Regions from separate parts of the Homo sapiens genome. Here region 2 is linked to region 1. Evidence: promoter capture Hi-C in 16 types of primary human blood cells and fetal thymus (Javierre and others, 2016). All regions are on one chromosome and are shown on one strand. The core of a region is centred on a gene start or on the middle of the fragment in contact, and the rest is flanking DNA. Distances in the headings are between cores, read along the strand shown.

What was found. The method cuts DNA at HindIII sites, captures the fragments that hold promoters and counts their contacts. A CHiCAGO score of 5 or more calls a contact.
Region 2: a contact is called between the fragment with the promoter of TUBE1 here and the fragment with the promoter of HACE1 in region 1, in 1 of 17 cell types (non-activated CD4 T cells). The highest score is 6.3, in non-activated CD4 T cells.

Annotation. Positions count from the first base shown.
Region 1 is chr6:104,856,988-104,861,612 of GRCh38, reverse strand. HACE1 (HECT domain and ankyrin repeat containing E3 ubiquitin protein ligase 1) reads left to right here and starts at 1,694. Exons shown (of 24, transcript NM_020771.4): 1 at 1,694-2,046. The coding sequence starts at 1,971. It also overlaps the pseudogene LOC100422315. RefSeq lists enhancers at 1,605-1,899, 1,514-2,013 and a silencer at 1,636-2,265. The HindIII fragment of the contact is 1,298 bases long and covers 1,564-2,861 here.
Region 2 is chr6:112,084,649-112,088,933 of GRCh38, reverse strand. It overlaps TUBE1 (tubulin epsilon 1), which reads left to right and starts at 1,452. Exons shown (of 12, transcript NM_016262.5): 1 at 1,452-1,524; 2 at 1,628-1,701; 3 at 2,326-2,378. The coding sequence starts at 1,500. FAM229B (family with sequence similarity 229 member B) reads right to left here and starts at 1,343. Exons shown (of 4, transcript NM_001033564.3): 1 at 1,214-1,343. RefSeq lists enhancers at 1,283-1,472, 1,207-1,738, 1,873-1,922. The HindIII fragment of the contact is 2,028 bases long and covers 823-2,850 here.

The sequences.
Region 1 (4,625 bases), core at 445-2,944:
GCAACAGCCTAGAGAGCAATGGTGATAACAGCAGCTGAGAGAAGCTGAGGGGCCAACTTCTGTACAGCAGTGGGAATCCTGACTTTTTGAATAGCATAAGAGGCCAAGCAAGACTGGAACATTTTTAGTTGAAGCCAGGTTGCAAATGGTTGAGCCTGGGCTAGACTGGTCCATAACGTCTGGTATTTCTTTCTTCCTTTCCTTTTTTTTTGAGACAGGGTCTCGCTCTGTCACCCAGGCTGGAGTGCAATGGCAGGATCTCAGCTCACTGCAGCCTCTGTCTCTCGGGTTCAAGCGATTCTCCTGCCTAAGCCTCCCGAGTAGCTGGGATTTCAGAGGCACACCACCACGCCCGGCTAATTTTTGTATATACATATTTTTAGTAGAGACAGGGTTTTACCATGTTGGCCAGGCTGGTCTCAAACTCCTGACCTCAAGTGATCCGCCTGCCTTGGCCTCACAAAGTGCTGGGATTACAGGCATGAGCCACTGCGCCCAGCCTCTGGTATTCTTTTGAAACTTTGACCTCTACCACCTTGTTGCCAGACTGGTTTAGGTATCATCTGATTAGGTGAAGATTACAGAGGTCTTCCCCGTGCCTGTGGCACCACTGGCACAAATGGTCACTAGCTGGAACTGATTTAGGACGGCACTGGCAGGGAAAACACATGCCAACCACCATCTGCCCCTTCATATCCTGAATGGGCAGGTGAGACTCTCTTTCACTTGGCCAGCCAACATACATCATCAACGTACATGTGCCCATTCATTTCAGGAACAGCTTTGTCTCTTTGAGGAAGAGAAGCTGAAAAAGACAAGCCTTTTGTTTCTCCCTCACTCCAGCATCATCTTGGCACTGGTAATATATCCAAGATATATTGGTGTTAGCCAGGCTCACATTTACCCCTTTGATTGGGTTAATTTTTTGAAGTTCCAACTTCTGTTGTTTCAAGTGTTCAACTTCTGTGCAGAGCTTATGAATATGATTTTTCGCCACTGAGTTCATTTCTTCCACAATGTAGGTATCCAAATTTTTTGTAACTTACAAAGTCAAATCCTTTGGATTTCCCACTAGGCTGTGTCATCACATAGACACTTTAGCATTGTACCAAATAAATGAAAAAATTTTTTCAGGTTGTCATCATTCATATCTTCCCCAGAGCTTTAACTTTGTGCTAGGTGCCTTGTTAAGTACAGGGATACAACACAGTTCAAGATTAAATGTCCCTGCCCTCATAAAGCCGCCCGGCAGGAAAAACAACTAATTAAGCTATTGTCAAGTTATTTACAATGAAGACAAAAGCACAATATGCTTTTGGATTTGTTTGATTTTATTACTCTTTAAGTTTGACATATGAAAATACCATACTTAAAACAGTTCATGTAGGGTACCTGAAACAAAGGCACTAATACAGTACTAGAAAGGTGGTGACGGATTTAAGAACAATTGTGCCAATTTCTAATCTGTTTTATAGTAAAGTTATAGAATTGGAGGAAACTGCTCCTGTACAACTTTGGAGGAGGGTAGGAGGAGCAGGGCGTGAGAATGCCTTTCCAGAAGCTTAGGAGTACGCCCAGTCGCTGCGTGGCTTCCCGCATACTCAGCCCTGCGCCCGCGTTGGCGTGGCCTGGGCGCCCCCAACGTGACTCCGCCCAGGGCGCTCCGTTCTGCCAGCTGGAAACTACAGTTCCCAGAAGGCCACGCGAGCCCGGGAGGGACGCGGCGGCGGGGGCTGCAGGAAAGGCGCGAGCAGAGGCGGCGGCGGGTGTACTGTAGGTGGTCGGTCCGGCAGCAGCCCGGCCCCCGGACGCAGGACGTGGCCCCAGGCAGCCCTCGCAGCTCAGTGCTCTAGCCGGGGCAAGCCCGCGTCTCCGCCTGCTGGACGGGCCCAGGCGAGATGTAGGGCTCTGGGCGCGGAGGCCGCCGGTGGGGCGGCTGATCGCGGAGGATCGCGGAGGGCGCGCCGAGGATGGAGAGAGCGATGGAGCAACTCAACCGCCTGACGCGCTCGCTGCGCCGCGCGCGCACCGTGGAGTTGCCCGAGGGTGAGCCGGGTCGCGGGGCCAGGCTGGCCGCGGGGCTGGGGGCGGCCAGTGGGGCAGGAGCTCCGGCCGCGTCAAGGTCGGGTGGAAAAACTAACTGAAAGCTGAGAAAACGCCCACTTTTACTTTCCAGAGCTGAGAGGCGGCCCCGGGCCCCGAACTCCCCTGGCCCGACGCTCCCACCCCGGCAGGTGGGAGTTTTCGGGAGGAAACTGGGTTGGTGGGGGTTCCGCTGCTGGGAGGAGCGAGACAAAGGTCTCGCAACGTCTGTCGATTAGGGGTCTTGGCAAAGGGGCAGGAATACCAGCCGGAGGCCCGAGACCCGGAGTCAGAAAACATCATAATTGCGGGTCATTTAACAGTAGCTGGGGATAGAGATGATCCAAAGATACTGTTTACTTTAAGCTGCATCGGGGGGCCAGGCGGGCTTTTATTTTTGTTATTTTTTAAAATGTGGGGCACTGCCTTGTTTTGATAACAGGCAAACAAAGGGTTGTCAAACATCAAACAGGTACTCTTAAAGTACTGTATGGGTAAACACAATATATTTTTCTTTAATATGCATGCCTGCCTTCATTCTTCATTTATTCATCAGACTAGTATTGAGTGGGCTAGCTGGTAACTAGGACGCATCTGCAAAGAGGAATAAGGCATGGTCCCTGAGGATCAGGACTTTTAGTTCAGCGTGCCAGGGTTCCCTCAGGACAGGTAAAACTCTGCTAATAACAAGGAGAGAAAATAAGCAGTTTTGTTTGCAGCGTCAGGAATTCAGACATTTTAGTGGTGATGGGAGACAGCAGTGCTGCTTCTAAGAAGCTTTTGGCTCTTTATGCCCAAGTGAGAGAAGGGTTGGGAGGAGGTTGTAGCTGGTGAATAGCTTTTTTCTTAATTGTAGTAGTTTATCTTACTTTTTCAAAACTCTCTTTGAATTGCTGCTGGGTGGTTTGTAGGATAGGGAAGGAGACCTTGGCAGACGGTCATGAAAGAAATGTGGGATTGGGTACTTTGGCGATAATTTTCTTTCCTTTCTTTTATAGAGATGAGGTCTCACTATGTTCCCCAGGCTGGTCTTGAACTCCTGGGCTCAAGTGATCCGCACCCTGCTCCCCCCAAAGTGTTGGGATTACAGATGTGAGCCACCGCGCCTGGCCTGGGGATAATCTTCTTGAAAAAATGGTCTCTAGTCTCTATTTAGAATTCAGATTTTGGTAACTAGATTCTAGCTTCAACTTTTTCTATATTTTCTTTCCAACTTCCACCTTTGAATCCATTTCTTAAGTGCTACTCTTACTTATTTTTCGTAGTCGAATTATTGGTATAGCTTTATGAAGACTACATGTATAATTTATATTGTCTAGTTTGAATCCCGATATTTTTTACATAAATGTGATTTAGAAGACTTTGATAATGTTACTTGGTTTTAAAAGTAATATAGTTTCATTGTAGAAAATTTGGAAAATAAAGAAAAATAGAAAAAAATATGTCATTTCACCATCCAGTTATAAACAGTGTTACCATTGTTATTTCTTTTTCCCTCCCTAACAAGTTAAAATCATGTTGCATATAGTCTTTTATTTTGTGTTTAGAAAACATCCTTTTTTTTTTTTTTTTTTGAGACGGAGTCTCACTCTGTCGCCCAGGCTGGAGTGCAGTGGCGCCATCTCGACTCACTGCAAGCTCTGCCTCCGGGGTTCACGCTATTCTCCTGCCTCAGCCTTCCCAGTAGTTGGGACTACAGGCCCCTGCCACCAGGCCCGGCTAATTTTTTGTATTTTTAGTAGAGACGGGGTTTCACCGTGTTAGCTAGGATGGTCTCGATCGCCTGACCTCGTGATCTGCCCGCCTCGGCCTCCCAAAGTGCTGGGGGATTACAGGCGTGAGCCACCGTGCCCCGCCCCAAATGTTTTTTTTTTTTTGTATTCTTCAATAGGCTTAATGACTTCAGAATTTCATAGGATGCATGTAACAAATGTTGAATCTAAATACTGTTTTTAAACTGATTTTATGAGAAACAGCTTTGTATTTAAGACATAGTCTGCCTCTAAATACTTCCTTAGGGTTAATTCTTACAAGAAGAATATCTACAATACATTTCTAAGGCTCAACATATCAGTTTCTCAACTTACTCCTTGGAAAGTTCCACCAGCAGTCCGAGAGTGCCCAGAAACTAGAGTATTATTAGTAAAAGTAAAACTTTTCCACATAGGCAAAAATGGCATCGTTTGCATTTGCTTTTCTTTGATTATAATGTTCATTTTGTTCCTTGAATTTAATTTATCTTTGTCTCTAAGCTCTGATGAGTCTTTGAATTCTCTGAGCTTGGCTCTTTAAAGTATATCATACATATAGGAATATATATATATATATGTAAATATATATGTAAATATATATGTAAATAAATATATATATGTAAATATATATATAACATTCCTACTGATACAAATCCACATTTGTGCTTACATTTTAAGAGCTGAATGGAAACTCTGAGATCTCTCTAAATTTAGAAAATAATCAGATTTTTTTTGCTTTGTTAGAATTCAGTAATCAATAAGCATCTAATTACAACAAACTATTAAACTTGT
Region 2 (4,285 bases), core at 203-2,702, 7.2 Mb before region 1:
TTAGGACTTTTCTTTCCTGTGTGGGGAATAATGACTGGGACTGCATGAAGGGTAGGGCTCTGCAAAGGCCAGTGTATCATCTCACCTAGCACTGATAACACACTGATACAGACCTATTCACATCACTGCCTACAAACTGGACCAAGACTTGCAAATTTTGGAAGCCCCAGACGTTGGGACTTTAGCATCAAGACCTAAAATGCCCAACTTTACCTCTACCACTGACCCCATACTCAGTAAGAAGTTAAGAATAAATCCAGCCTACAAAAATTTACTGACCGAAAGCTGCCTATTACCAAAAGATATAAAATCCATTGCAACTTTAAACCTACCGGCTACCAGAGAAATTTAATAGTAACTACTACGTGTCTTGGTGGGACAATAAAGTGTTCTAATCCATTGAATATTACAGTTCATATTAGCACATATTCATAGCACATACCATATAACTTTTTATTAAACAAAGAAGACTTCTTAGAGTTTCGTAGTTCTTCAGAATTTTTGTGGAAAATATTAATTTCATTAAAGAAGTACTTGAGTTCTTAATTAAAATCTGGTCTAATTTGATCAATAGAAGTTTACATATTTTAATGTTTGACAATTTTAAGTAGTTGGTAATTGTCATAATGCCTAACTTTTTAATCTTCTCCTGCCTATCCCATCTAAATACCCATCTAAATGCCTAGTGTTAATCTCGTGTCTTCTATCAGACTTCTACATACTCATCTACATCCTCAACCACTGAATCCTATTGCACTTATAGTCAACGCCACACAATTCTTTAAGTATTTCGCGTGTATGTCTTCAATTAGATTGTAAGCTTCTTGGAACTGGATCTATGCCTTAATTTCTTTCTAATCTTCCCAGCGAGCCTACAAGTTAATTTGGGGAGTATACAGCGTTCAACAAATACTGGTTGGGTCTGTGACCTTAGCTTTGCCATTTTTGTCAAAGCGTATAACCATCTAGTTTCAATTGTGCCCTGACATGACTATTTCTCTGGGGTTTCTCTTTGCTCAACGCCATTGTTCATTTTCTATTAGAATAAAGGGCTTGTTGAACAGAGATGCCAACGCAGCGTCCCGTGGAATCTGAATAAACGGACTGATCCACCGCCCCGGGTGTTGAGGCTGTGAACAAAAATTAAACCTCTGATAGCCCACGAACAGCTTAACGACACATATTTTAAAATACCACTCCAAAGCCTAGTTACCTGCCAGTTACCCCGGCCTCCGGAGCTGCCGATGCTCGAAGATGTTGACAAGGCAGCTAGGATATACAGTCCAGAAGCCCAGTCGCTACGGTAACGGTGACACGCAAGTGCACTTGCGCGGCCTTCTGACGGAAAACCTTAGCCTGAACCTACAGACGTGCTTAGCGACGGCAGAGGCTTGCGGCAGTAGCGTGACTTACGGCAGCTCTCTAGCAGAGCGCCGTTGCTGGGGGAATGCAGAAGCGGCCGCGGGCTAGCAAGCTCCCGGAGCCGGCGGCGCACCACCATGACCCAGTCGGTGGTCGTACAGGGTAAGCTACGCCGGGCGGGTAGAGACCTGGTCGCCGCGGAATCCAGCGGCCATGTTTCCTGCTTAATGTCCTATTCTCTTTCCTTCCTCTCCTCCGGTCGCAGTCGGCCAGTGCGGAAACCAGATCGGCTGCTGCTTCTGGGACCTGGCACTAAGGGAGCACGCCGCGGTCAACCAGGTACCCGCCCGCCGCCGCGAGCCCCCTCGCCTGTCAGCTAGGTCTTCCAGCCCATACGCAGGAAATAATCGACTTGAGCTTTCATCTGACCCGTTTAAGATGCATGGGATCTTCCCAGTAAAGAACGTACTGGTTTTTAAACATGTTGCGTCAGACACACACTAAACTAAAAGAACACTGGCCAGCGACCTTAGTCTTAACGTTTTTCCTGATTCTCAGGGTCTCCTCTTTATTGGTGTTCGTGTGCAGAACAGTGAGATTTGTATATGGGAAAGTACTTTGTAAAATAGATAACACGTGTGGTTATTGTATTCCTTAATTTAACCAGTCAGCTTTTAAAAAGATTACGAAGAATCCAGAGAACGCTCATTTGATGGACCTGTCCTACAGTCCTATGGGTGAAATCCTTTCTTTAGCACCCCCTGCTGAACTTTTTATCTGTAGATCTGGCATTTACTCTTCTAAGGAGATTGGGAAGAGTCAGGCTCCGCATTTTGTGATACTTGGTTTTTCTTATCAGAGTCTCATCCTAGCCATTACAGTATTATGTAATTAAAATTGAAAGAACTTGATTTGGGCGAGAAGCAAAACCTAAATGCTATTAACATATGTTTTTCTTTTTAGAAAGGAATTTATGATGAGGCAATAAGCAGCTTCTTTAGAAATGTGGACACCAGGTAAGATGGGATTAAAGTCTGTCACAGTGTGATACTTTAAGTTTCAGTAGCTTGGGAGAGAATTCTTCAAAGGACAATAAAAATAGCCAGCTGCGAAGTTGTGTTTTTTTGTTTCATTATTGAAAGCATATTTATTCTATTAGATTATTAATATTCTTATATCATTTTCCCGAAGAAGACAACAGATTTCCCTTTAGTGTGACTTCTTTTAACTTAACCTTGAAATAAGTTTCATTAAAAGAAAGCTGAAATTTTCCCAGAGGGCATCTTGTTAATGCATCCTGTAATAACTAACTTTTGAAAGAAAAATATATTGTTTACATATATGCTGTAAGTATAAAAATATACTTAAAAAGGTGACAAGCAGTTGTTGGATTGTTTTTGTTTATTTAATAAAGAGTATATGTAAGTACCATATATGTTTTATCTGGAAGAGTAATTTAAGTTGCCGTTTAGGATATCTCCATAAGCTTTTAATATTAAATCATTAAGTTCATGCATTTTCAAAATACTTCATAAAACTAACTGTCCTGTGCTTAAACTGAAAAATACATACTTCGTGTCAGGCTTTAATCCAATAGGAACATCAGTTCTAGTTTAAAATAGTTGGCTGGGTGTGTGAGCAGTTATCTTCAGAGAAAGCTGATTAGTCCGCGCTTCCTGGGTGAATTCCAGAGTCTATCTAGGGCACTGGCTTGCAAACTCAGAAGTGTCATTGGCATCTCGAGATGGGTTCAGTGCTCTCCAGTACAGCCAGGTTAACCAAAGACCAAATTCTCATTTTCATAGGCACATTACTTTATCTTTTGTAGGAAATCTAACTGAAAAGCTGTGTAATAATCTGAAGGTTGCTTGGTGACCATGGAATCAGACCAAAGGAAGTTAGTTACTTTAATGGCTGGTATCATTTATATTTATTTTATGGAGATATCTGTCATATAGACTATAGATTCCCTCTTATTTGTAGCCCACAATATCCTCACCTCTAAATTCTCTTAGGAGACTCAAATTTGCTTCTGTCATACTTCCTTTCCGGCGCTTCTCTTGCTAAGTTCCTACACCCACCTCTTTACTTCTTGTTACCCAACGCTTACATTGAGTATTACATAGTTGAGACTCAGCCTGGGAGCTTTTCTTTCTTCATAAGGTGACTCTTCATAACTACACTCTCATCTACTCTGTGTGTTTTATACTTTAACCTGAGAGCACTATTATTTTCCCGGTAAGTTTGGCAAACAGGGTTGTGGCATCTTGCACTTCTTTCTGTGTACTATCAACACATGCAGCATCTGTTCCACAGCTTAGTACAAAAAATATTTTTCAAAGTAAAACCATATCTTTGTGTACTATTCTTATCAAATTTTTATACCTTTTGAGTAGCATGATAGGAATTTACCTACAGCATGGGTTGGCATGCATATATTTTCTGTAAAGGACCAGGCAGTAAATATTTTAGGTTTTGTGAACCATAAAGTCTTTTGCACCACTACTTGATCTGTAGCATGATTGTGGGCATAGGTAATACATAAAGGAATGGGTGTGTCCACATTTGAATAAAATTTTATTTAGGAAAACAGGCAGCTAGTTGAATTTGGCCTGATGATTGGCTACCCTTCATATATTCCGTCTTGTGAACTGTCTTTATTGACCCATATACTGCGTTAGATTTTAGTACTTTGGCAACTTATTTCCAACGTGAAATTCTGAGAACAACCTTAGATACTCAATGGTAAATACCAGTTATATCAGTTGATGGGTGTTAACTGCAATAGAAAACTACATTAATGGTGGCTGAGGCAGTAAAGGTATTCATTTATCTCACAAATCTGCAAATCAGATGTTCTAGGTTTAAAGGAATGCCTCAAAGATCTAATACTATATATGTTCCACTGTCCATAAGTGTGTTG